Linked DNA regions of Homo sapiens: all the other regions are linked to region 1. The links are contacts of gene promoters, found by promoter capture Hi-C in human tissues and cell types (Jung and others, 2019). All regions are on one chromosome and are shown on one strand. Each heading gives the region's core, a stretch centred on a gene start or on the middle of the fragment in contact. The rest is flanking DNA. Distances are from core to core; before and after follow the strand shown.

Evidence for each region. The method cuts DNA at HindIII sites, captures the fragments that hold promoters and counts their contacts. A contact is called where the count stands out against the background at its distance.
Region 2: a fragment that was not itself captured here is called in contact with the fragment with the promoter of INHBA in region 1 in 2 of the 25 tissues and cell types used here (dorsolateral prefrontal cortex and lymphoblastoid cells).
Region 3: a fragment that was not itself captured here is called in contact with the fragment with the promoter of INHBA in region 1 in 1 of the 25 tissues and cell types used here (aorta).
Region 4: a fragment that was not itself captured here is called in contact with the fragment with the promoter of INHBA in region 1 in 2 of the 25 tissues and cell types used here (H1 embryonic stem cells and aorta).

What each region holds. Positions count from the first base shown.
Region 1 is chr7:41,701,726-41,704,425 of GRCh38, reverse strand. INHBA (inhibin subunit beta A) reads left to right here and starts at 1,336. Exons shown (of 3, transcript NM_002192.4): 1 at 1,336-1,421. The region is part of intron 1 of INHBA-AS1 (INHBA antisense RNA 1); the gene reads right to left. The HindIII fragment of the contact is 9,174 bases long and covers 1-2,700 here.
Region 2 is chr7:40,461,532-40,464,287 of GRCh38, reverse strand. The region is part of intron 11 of SUGCT (succinyl-CoA:glutarate-CoA transferase); the gene reads right to left. Among named protein-coding and RNA genes, the nearest start is that of SUGCT-AS1, 84 kb to the left of the region's middle. The HindIII fragment of the contact is 4,360 bases long and covers 1-2,756 here.
Region 3 is chr7:40,689,264-40,691,963 of GRCh38, reverse strand. The region is part of intron 12 of SUGCT (succinyl-CoA:glutarate-CoA transferase); the gene reads right to left. Among named protein-coding and RNA genes, the nearest start is that of SUGCT-AS1, 140 kb to the right of the region's middle. The HindIII fragment of the contact is 5,614 bases long and covers 1-2,700 here.
Region 4 is chr7:40,495,371-40,498,070 of GRCh38, reverse strand. It overlaps SUGCT (succinyl-CoA:glutarate-CoA transferase), which reads right to left. Exons shown (of 14, transcript NM_001193313.2): 12 at 1,685-1,787. Among named protein-coding and RNA genes, the nearest start is that of SUGCT-AS1, 50 kb to the left of the region's middle. The HindIII fragment of the contact is 3,548 bases long and covers 1-2,700 here.

The DNA of each region.
Region 1 (2,700 bases), core at 87-2,586:
CCATCATTAATCCTATTTCTGTCTTCGCCACTCAGATTCACTCTCTTCCTCTACAACCTAATGATTTTTTTCCTACTTCATTTCTGCATATGCAGTTCTTAGAATACTCCTTCCCCCCACCCCCATGCAGCTCAGCACCCACACTTTCTCTGTATCTAGCCAAGAGAGACCCTTTTACACAGAAAACTTCTGGTGTCCTAATGGAACCTGCTTAAGCCACACATCAGGAGGCCAGAGCCTCTATATTTTGCTTGTGGGCACAGTGAAAAGTTTATTTTATGCATGTTAAATCCTGCATACAAAACAACATATCTGGTCATATGGCTCTCATTAGCTCCCAATTTTGCACATTTTATCCAACTTGTCATGAGAACTGGGCTTATGCTTCAACTGTAGTCCTTCAAACAACCCTTCACCGTTCTTGTCAGAGGACCCCTTCCTCCTGTGTTATTTACCAGACTTGCCAACACCCCTCCCCCACAAAAAAAGCCTGACCAGCTTTACCCCTATTTCAAGGAGTGTTCACTTCTTTTCATTAATCTGCTGTTATATTTGTAACAATTTAGAAATTATAGGAGTTGAAGTTCTGGTAAAAAAGAATGATGCATGAGGGTTTTTGTTGTTGTTGTTGTTGTGTGTGTGTGTGTGTGTGTGTGTGTTTGGTTAGTTAGAATGAGATTCTAAAGACCTGGGAAGGATACTTATGAAGTTCATTTAAAGAGAATTACTATTTCCAAAGTTCTTGATTTATGAAGCAGGCATTCAATTTCAAGATGTAAAATAATAGTGTAAGTTGGTTGGGGTCGGGGGAGACCATCATCATATGATTATACAGATTTTCCCAATTTTTTTCCTCAATGAAATAGCTTATTTTAAAAATATAAAATTAGAATCCCTATAAAGAACACTACCAATTTTCTTTCCTGAAAGAAACAATAAAATACTTTGTAAATAGAAGCAACTTCATGAAGTAACAGATGTTTTATGTAAAGACATAAAACTGAACCTGAATATAACGAGACGTGTGTGCGAGTAGTAAAAGTTGAAAGTTGGACACACTCATTGAGACATATCTATTTGATTCCAATGTTTTTCTAAAAGGTAGAGTAATCCTAGCCAGAGGTTTCACTGGCTCAGTGCATCACCCAGTAGTGTCTCAGAAGCCAGGAAGGGCTTTCCATTAGATAATGAATTATGAAATGTCTCACACTGGAAAAACCAGTCATCCGCTGATGTCATGCTGATTCCAACCAATCCCAAACAAAGCCCCAGCCCTCCTCTGTTTCAGTGGTACCAATGTGTGGTGTACAAATAAGTAGTACAGTATAAAACTTCACAGTGCCAATACCATGAAGAGGAGCTCAGACAGCTCTTACCACATGATACAAGAGCCGGCTGGTGGAAGAGTGGGGACCAGAAAGGTAATGCTTTTTAACTCTTACTTCTGAGCTCTTTACACATTCAAAGATAGGAAAGCTAGGAGGAATTTTACAACTAATTGGCATTTCCAATGTGCATTGTGATGTGTACCTTTTTATATTATTCAGGCAGGTTAATACAGCTTTTAATAGTCCTAGAGCATGCAAATAGATTATATGTTTATACAAGCCACTCAGCACATATATACAAGTACATATGCCAAAGAGAAAGCTATTTTTAAGAGTTACATTCGCAAACAGTAAATTCAGGGAACACACACATACTCAGATGCAGAGAGAATCCAAATATTGATAAGTTGCACTTATCTAAATGCTGCTATTAGGACTCCTGAGTTGTTTAGAGCCATTAAACTTTTGGTTGTATTTCAGACTTTCTTGTAAAACTTAATTGAACTGCAAAACATTTTGGGTACTGTATATGTGACTCCAAATAGGTGGATGATGTTAAGTATTATAGCACAAAGATTTTTTATAAAACCATTGTAACACAAATGTCCCCTGCCTCCCCCATTCTCTTTCACCATCCCCGTAAAAAATATGAGGCTTTTTAGGCAATGTTGACAAAGTTTTAACAATAATGGTGGAGTAATTGATGTTTCTGGAGCTGAAACCCCAAAGGTGTTAGGTTACTTGTAACAGAAAAAGTCTTACAAATAGTTGTTTTGGAAAAGGGGACAGTATATATAATTCAGAAAGCATTGTTAACCTGTGCAAACTGTAATTATAACTTAGTGTCACAATTTTCTTGCCCTCTTCCCCTTGCACTCAGATCTTATCTTGTAGTAATGATATTTATTAACTCTTTCCACCTAAACTGCATTGCTTGACTGTAATGCTATGAACACACTAGGTGTCAGATATAAGCTGAGTGTATCTTCAGAAACCAAGAGGGCTTATGTGTGGGAAAGAAACCGAGAGGGAAGGAACGCTTTAACAGATGGACCCCTTAAAGATTCTTCTGCAAGATAAAAGCAATAAGACAGAAAATGAAAAAGAGGGGAGGGGGAAGAATTTTTTTTAAGCCTTAGAAAGGCATTGTTAAAAAATTCACATTTTTCTTTTTCTGTGCACACTAAAATCCATGATGATTTCATCTGCACTGTTCCTTTGAGGGAAAAAGAAGCAGTCAAGGAGGCTGTCTATGAATGCACTGGTCGGGACAGGCTTGGGGCAAGCTGAAAAAACTACCACATGACAGAGAAAAATAATTTGCCAATATATTTTAGAGAGTCTTTTCCCATAGGACCAGTTATTCAAGTCA
Region 2 (2,756 bases), core at 20-2,519, 1.2 Mb after region 1:
AATTAGACCATGAGCTCCTTAAAAGCCCAGGCTTCATCTTTCAGCTCTGTATCTGCAGGACAATGGTACACAGTCAATGGCCAATAAATGTTGGTGAAGAGAGGAAGAGAGAGAGAATAAAATAAATTTTATGTCTATTTTCTCCATCAATTCTCTTCTCCTTCATCCTCATTTCATGTTTTCCTATTATTTCTCCCCAAACACTAATACATCATCTTTATCCCTCTCTTCCTAGTTTCAATTCACAACTTGCAATATCTCTCTTGGGGTCCTAACTATTGCAAAAATGCTGATCTGGTGTGTGAGTAGCACAGGTTTAAGAGTTTGTTGCTCCTTAGCATTGCAAAGAAGGGGATTGTTTTATCTGGCGCTGGATTAGTCTCCATTATATCTCCTCTTCTGTTTTAGCTAGGGATTTTTAACATGATTGAGTTTTACCTAGTTTTCAATGTTAGCAGCTGGGTAAACATACTTTCTGCAACACCCTGGATAAAATGGCAAACTCCAGGGGAAAGTCTTCTACCTTTAGATTAATAAAAAAGACTTGCTCACAGCCCTGGTTGGGGAATAGTAACACTTGAGAGCATTTGAGGGGAATCGTGTGTGCTGGCTGTGGAAAACGCAGCTGATGACCAAAACAGGCAGCTGCCGTCCTGAGTGAGGCTGATCGCCCTCAGAGAGTAGCTTCAAACTGTACTTAGCAAGAATAACAGAGAACTGAGGTAAGTGACTGACAACTCTGGTAGGTACTTCCAAAAAAGCCTGGACTTTTCATAGGAGAATCACCTGATTCTAAAAAATATAAATGAAGGCTTACAAGGGACAGGGAGGGGAGTACTCAAAAATTGCTCAAGGAAAATACTTTGGAAGGAAGATTTTGAAACACAATAGGAAATTCACGTGTATATTTACAAGAGCCAACTTTGTAAAAATCCATAAATGCTTCTGTTTTCACTGTCTTCGAATTGGGTGTAAAGGATGAGAAAACTTTTTAAAATAAACACAGTGAGTTCATCATTCCTAGAGTTTGTTTTTAAAGTTATCTGCTGTGCAAATTCACTCTCATGAATCCCTCCACATTTTCACGTTTTAAAGATTTTCTAAAATAAAAATATCAGGCAAGGAAAGTGTCTATAAGTATTAAAGGAAAGTGCCTGCGATGTAAGGTTTAACAGAAGACAACAGGCAAAAACACGATAGACTCACATGGTAAAGTCGATTATTTGTGAGTGGCTACTGTTACTAAAAATATGTTTTTACTATGGAAATGGCTGGCAAACCACATTTTAAAAACTGGAGCATGTATATCAACATGTTGAAAAAGTACAATAAATGAGTAACAGGTACAGCCTATAACTGTAATAGTTTTGCAAGAGAAAAAATTTTTTAAGTGGTTATTATGAAAAATATGGAAAACTAACTTCTTAGGCTCACCGAAACAAATGTGTTAAGTAATAGTTCAAAAACAACCACTACCAAAAAGAAGTATGTCTTCTAGAAAGTCTGCAATGGTTACCAAATGAAAATTCAGGAGGGCAGGAATTCTTGACTGTATTTTACTGCTATATCCCTAGTGCTCAGAACAGTTCATGGCACATAGTAGGTGTTCAACAAATGCTTGTTGAATATGTGAGAGACTGAATAAATGGAGAAGCATAGACCACTTCAACCTGGCCCTCTGGTCTTCCTAGGTGAGAAACGGGGTCTTCCTGACTCCACGTTGCTGAAATGCTTTGACCTCTTCTCTACTAGGTAGAGCACTCCCTCCCTTGACGCTCTCTCTTCAAGTTAGAAAAAAGTTGCAATAAGCAAATCCATTTTATGGCCAGAAAAAAAAATCCTTTATTTCACAAGTTTAAGAAACTACTTTGTCATAAAGGCTTTCATGAGTTCACGACTTGATCTGCCTGCCATGGGCTCCCACTCTCTCTGAACCAACCTGACACCCCTCTTCTCTTGCTCCCTCAGATCCAAGCACACTGTCCTCTGACTTACTCCATAAACTCTGCCTGGAATTCATCTCCCAGATGCCTGCCAGCCTCCCTCAGACATTTTCTCTCATTTCTTGCAAGCTTCTGATCAAATGTCACTTTCACAGAGAAGCCCTCTGTGACCAGACTAAATGAAAAACCCAGCTTCACACTTAACTTCTGGCATTCTTCCTTGTCCTGGCCTGTATTATTTTTCATGGATACACTTTGTCTGTTTCGTTCACTTCTCTATCCCCAACTTGCAACAGTGCCTACTACACAGTTAGTGCTCAATAAATATTTCTTGAGCGCATAAACAAACAAGGACACAGTCATATTTCATGTGCCACTTCAGGGAGGCAATATGAGAGATGAAAAAGGTGTAGCCTTTTGAATCCCATTTCTAACTATTCACTATGTGCCTGACCTGGAGACCACCTCCCTAAATGTCAGAATTTTCATATCAAGTGGGAATAATAACACTTATCTGGCATGTACTTGGCAGCCACCAAAGGCTGGTTCCACTCCTTCCTTTCTCCCTGGCTCCTTTTTTGTGGCTATGAGCTAATGTAACACTTTTGTTAGGAAATAAAATGCCTGCAAGTTCTGAGGTGGCTGTGTAATGCATGTGCTGAGCAAGACGAGAATGTTGAGAAGGCCCTAGAGCAGTATCATTCATAATGACAACTAACGTTGATTGTACTTCTGTTTGGCAATGGCAACGGACAAGGCATGAAAAGGACAATGTTCTTTCCTAAAGGTGCCAACATCTTACTGGGAACAGAG
Region 3 (2,700 bases), core at 71-2,570, 1.0 Mb after region 1:
AAATAGATCATTTCAATAAGAATCCAATGAGAAAGGGTTATAAATATTTTTGCTACATGGTGAGCACTTAACAAATTTTTGTGTCTCTTGAAATCTGCCCACATTTTCTTCTCTTTATATTCCTCCTTCCCCAAACTCCATGCCATTCCTCTCCCTAGAAAAGAAGAAGGCGGTTGTTGAAACTTTAGATAAAAAAGAATTCTAAGACAAGTTTTAGGTGAGTTCATCCAAGCAGACTCTAAGAAAGAAAGACATCCATTTGACTTTCCATTTGACTTGAATACTATAAATCTGATGTCAAAAAAGTTTCTAGTATGAAGATAAAGATAGGATTCTTAAGCCAAGACTTTAATAATTTCTGGCTGCCATCACTGAGTGGATATAGCAGGCTGTCTTGGTTTGGCTCCATTAAACTTTTGATATATCTAGCGTATATCTAACATATATCAAAAGTTTATATCTGATTCCACTCTCACCAGAAAGCTGGGCCTGACTTCTGGGAAGAATTATTGATCATGCTGATTTCAATTCTTTCTAAACCCCAATAGCTATGATAGCTCATGATCAGTAAGAAATATGGCTTCTGGGTATGATCCAGCTGTGAGGAGAAAAAGTTCTGTCTTATATCAGTACTAAAGGCAAAAAAAAAAAAAGTTTCTCACATAAATTAATCAAGTAGTTTTCAGGAGTCTACACAGTCTCATATACACTGTAGGTTCGTAAGAGAAAATATTGATTGACCTTGAGCCCAAAAACCATTTCTTGCATCTTCAAGTAGAGGGCCAGGTCACTCCAGGATTTCATGCAGCTCCACTTGTTTCCTGTTTCTATAGAATCCGTCTTCATTCTTTGAGATCCTTAGTTCTCCAACAGTAGGAAGACCCAATATCAGTTTTTCCTGAGTCTTCCTTTTCTATTCCAGAGGAAATATCAGACAGCCAAGTGCAAAAGGCCCAAGTATATTTCGTCCAGATGGGCTCTTGCCTTTTCCTCTGGAGAAGAACCAGACCTTGAGGGTGTCTGTCAGTGACTTCTAGTTACAACCTTTAGGTCCTCCTAAGATTTCAGCTCAAATGTTTATATGGATGGCCAGGTGTGGTGGCTCCTGCCTATATCTCAGCACTTTGGGAGGCTGAGGAGTGTGGATGGCTTGAGCCCAGGAATTCAAGATCAAACTGGGCAACATGGTGAAACCCCGTTTCTACAAAAAAATACAAAAATTAGTCAGGCAGTCAGGCATCTTGGCACGTGCCTGTAGTCCCAGCTACTCGGGAGGCTGAGGTGGGAAGATCATCTGAGCCGAGGAGGTCAGAGGTTGCAGTAAGCTGAGATCCAGCCACTGCACTACAGCCTGAGCGACAGAGTTTCACCTTGTCTCAAAAAAAAAAAATTATAGGGATGAATTGATCTCTCTATATCTTGCTATTCCATTAATATGACTTACAGCAAGAATTATGAGAAAGTAGTTTTTAAATAATTAACATATTAAGCATAATATACCTATTAATATAATTAATGTATTGGGCAATAATTAACATAATTAGGCATAGGGAAGAAGTAAGTGCTTACGAAAGATAATATTTGATTTATAGAGTACATCTAAAGGTAGCTAGAAGGTCTACTTAAGGTTCTAAAACGTTTTATAAATTGTTTTTTGAGCAGAAGTCTACTCATGTCACAAAAATATTCTTAATCATATATATAATGATATTGTGAATACAACAACTTTAAGGCAACAGTCCCAGACAACCAAATTGTAACCATTATGTTTACCATCTTGGCCCATATCCCAAGCTCCACATGTTTTCGGCATCCTTTTTGGACTCAACAATAAGGGGCTCAACTATGAAGACTCCTTTATGTTACTATTACAAATGCAAAGAGAACAAATCCATTTATGTAAATATGAATTTGAAATTCTTTGTAGTATGGTGACCATATGCATGGATTCTCAGAAAGCAAAAGCCAAATATTAATTTCCCATTCTGTGGAAGTACTTTAGGTTTCTGACATAGGGAACTGATCCTATTAAGTGGTAATTTACAGTGGCTACTTGTTGCTTACATGTGGAAAATCCATAGGGGTAAGTCATAGGAATTAGGGAAGAGAGTACCCTGAGTAAAATAATATGCACAGCTAATCCTTATGACTCACTCAATATCCTTCTCCCCAATCCCCCCACCCTTCAATCCATCCACCCCACCCCCTGCCACTCAATTAAGTGAAACTGTCCAGCCAGTTTGGCTGCTACAAGAATTTGAGTTGGAGCAAACAGACGTGGTCTGTTTATAAGAAATGGGCCTTTAGCCATGGTTTCATCTCATTTGCACCAGGATTCCACTAGAAGATTTTCTGTGTTGGCTATATGATGCCCTTCATATAGTGTGAAGGAAGTACAAGTCAGGAAAGAATTTTGTCCTTATGGAAGATCAGCAGGAGTAGAAAGCCTCTGTCTGAAATCTGAGAGGATTATGTTCCACTAAAGTTGCTAAATATTCTCATTGGAAAATTACCCACGATAATCCTCTTGAAAGTGACATTCTAAACAAACTATGGTCTTTCTGCTTTGCTTGGAAATCTATGATTTTCTTAAAAAATTCAGACATAAAAAAGGTAAAAAAGATTGCCTTTGTGATATTTTTATTTTCCCCAGAATTTGGGGGCTCATTGCTTGCTATCCACTGGACACCTAAGTCTTCT
Region 4 (2,700 bases), core at 78-2,577, 1.2 Mb after region 1:
GTTCCAGAAGAATTGAGATGCAAAGATTAAAGTAATTACATTGAACCACAAGAGAAAATTAGTTATAAAAATCCTAATTATCCTATATTCACTTTGAGCTAGCCAATAAAGTGAATTATTTTAAGATAGTGGGTGGGATTATAAATCTTTGTTTATCAAAGCCTAAAAAATAGGTAGTGTTAGAATATACTTAATATATTTTTAAATAATATAATTATTTAAAAATAACTCTTTGCTTTGGTGCCTTCATCTCTAATAAAACACAGATGGAGCAATAGAAATGCTGATGGAAAAACTCTTAGGAAATATCTCCAGAAAAATGTACCCTCAAACTGAGGTAAACATGAAGTTCTACGTACACCTCAATACACGACAGCTTCAAATGATGGCTTGGCCTCACTCAAAGTTATAAAGTGAGAAAAACAGTCCCCTGGTCTACTATATTCAGAGTATGCACAATGCTACCTCCTTGTAAAGAATCACCAGGCATTAATCCACTGATGGTGTGGGGTCCCTTTCAGATGAATTCACATAGTACACACCAAATGGGCCCCTTTATCTCAAATACTTATTGACCATTATTGACCAAAGTTTTAACATGAACAAAGCCTTGAGATATTCACAATCTTGGCCGAAAAAATAGCACAAGCAGAATTCCTGAATTCATTCACTTTTTTTCTCCAGTAAATGTAGTAACCATTAAATTTAAAATATTTCAATTTTCTTTTAAGCAGATATTCATGTAAGATAAAAGGCACCAAAGGTTTTCCAACAAAGGTCTCCTCCCTCAAAAGGTGTATTCTATGCTCAGTAATTTATTTCTAAGAAAAACCTGCCACGATATAAATATAAAGAACCCAAGAAAATATACCCCATGGTTTTGAATTTTGGAAACTGACAAGACAGTTGAATAATCATAGTGAAAGCTTTAAAATGGACTCCCTGTACTTTTGGGGATCGATGGATGAATTTGAGAAATGGTAAATTGCTTGTAGTTTTTTGATTGAAGTAATAAAATCAAAACATTATTTTCACATAATCTAAAAATAATCACTTGAACAATGTTATAAAGTAAATATATTTTCAGGTGACCCTGTTCCTGGAGCCCAAAAAGGAGCCTGATAAGCAACGTAGAGCACAAATATCTATCTGTGTAAAATTTATGCCTTACAAATAACACATATTCATCAAAGCAAACAAAGTCCTCTCATCTGCAGAATTAAATATGACTTGCTCTGTACATTTTAAGATAATCATATGATCAGAGAGATAATCATATGATCAGAGGTATAATCATATGATCAGAGGTTTAAGATAATCATATGATCAGAGGTATGAAAGTTCTCATATTTCTTCCTACAAAGAATAGTCTCTGAGTACCCAACCCCAATATCTCAATTGTGTATATTTCTGTTTTTCAGGAAAATTAAATACCCTGGCCACAGAAACTTCATGTAGTGGCTGATGAAGAAATACAGTATATTAAATCTAACAGAGACATAAGTATGCTTATGGACAGGCACTTCTAAGTTCTGGTTCTTTTTATCTCAGACCCACAAACAATTTTAATATGATGGTGAAAATTCACATCATGTGACTTAAGCTTGCGATCAATGGCAAAGGTACCTTGATATAAGTCAATCTGGACAGAAAACAGAGGCGTTGTTAAACTTCAAAAACAAACCTGAGGTTCTGCAAATACATTCTTCATGTTGTTGATTGGGCCATACGGGACTCCACTGCCTTCAAAAAGATATAACCACTTGCTGGTCAGTTCTTCTTCAAACCTAAGAAGACAAACAAGGATAAATTTTTTACACAGGAAGGAATGTAACACAGCCTCTTCTATCATGTGGCCCTCTTTGAAAGCAAGCAATAGTCATAAAACTATGTTTCCTAGTCTTTCTTTACACCTCATTTGAGAGAAGGTTGTCTGTATGAAATGACTTGAGTGGCCCTGTGGTGGATAAGAGTAGCCACCCAGGTGCTAGTGTTTAAAAATCCATCATTTAGAGATGTAATTCTTCCTATTTCTATTGCTATGAACTCTCTGAGCAATTTATGAATTTAATAATAATAATATCATTGTACTTTGAGCGTGAAGTCATTGGGCAATATGTCTTTTAGGTCTCAGGTAGTGGAAATCGGGTTAGGATAGGCACTGATATATTATTCTTCAAAACAAAAAAAATACTAATATAGCTGTTTTAAGAAAGCTTTGGGAAAAGTACACAAAAATTAATGGTCACAACCATTGGCCTACAAACAACCTTTGCACTGTGATTTACTAACCAGCACAACTCAAGACATGCAAAGAGTGATATTTCAGTTTAACCAACAAAACTCAAATTCATCCAAATCCTTTGTCTGTTTTATTTCTACTATAATTTAAAATTGGACTTCATAGACAGAAAAGCACATGGATTTTCTTTATTTTCTCTAATAGGTCTCAAGGAAGGGAAGCTAACACATTTATGAGATTTATTGTTTTATATTTCTTCTCTGTAAAAACAGTGAACACAGAAATAAAATCTTGGATCTATAGGGACACCACAACACAATTAGTTTCTAAGGTATGAAGAATTTCAGAATTATTGATTATTAAAATATCAAACCTGTTTTAATTAATTAATAATCTAGGTAACCAAAGAGACATTTTTAAAATATTAGCCAAAGTAGACTAAAATGTTTTACTAATAT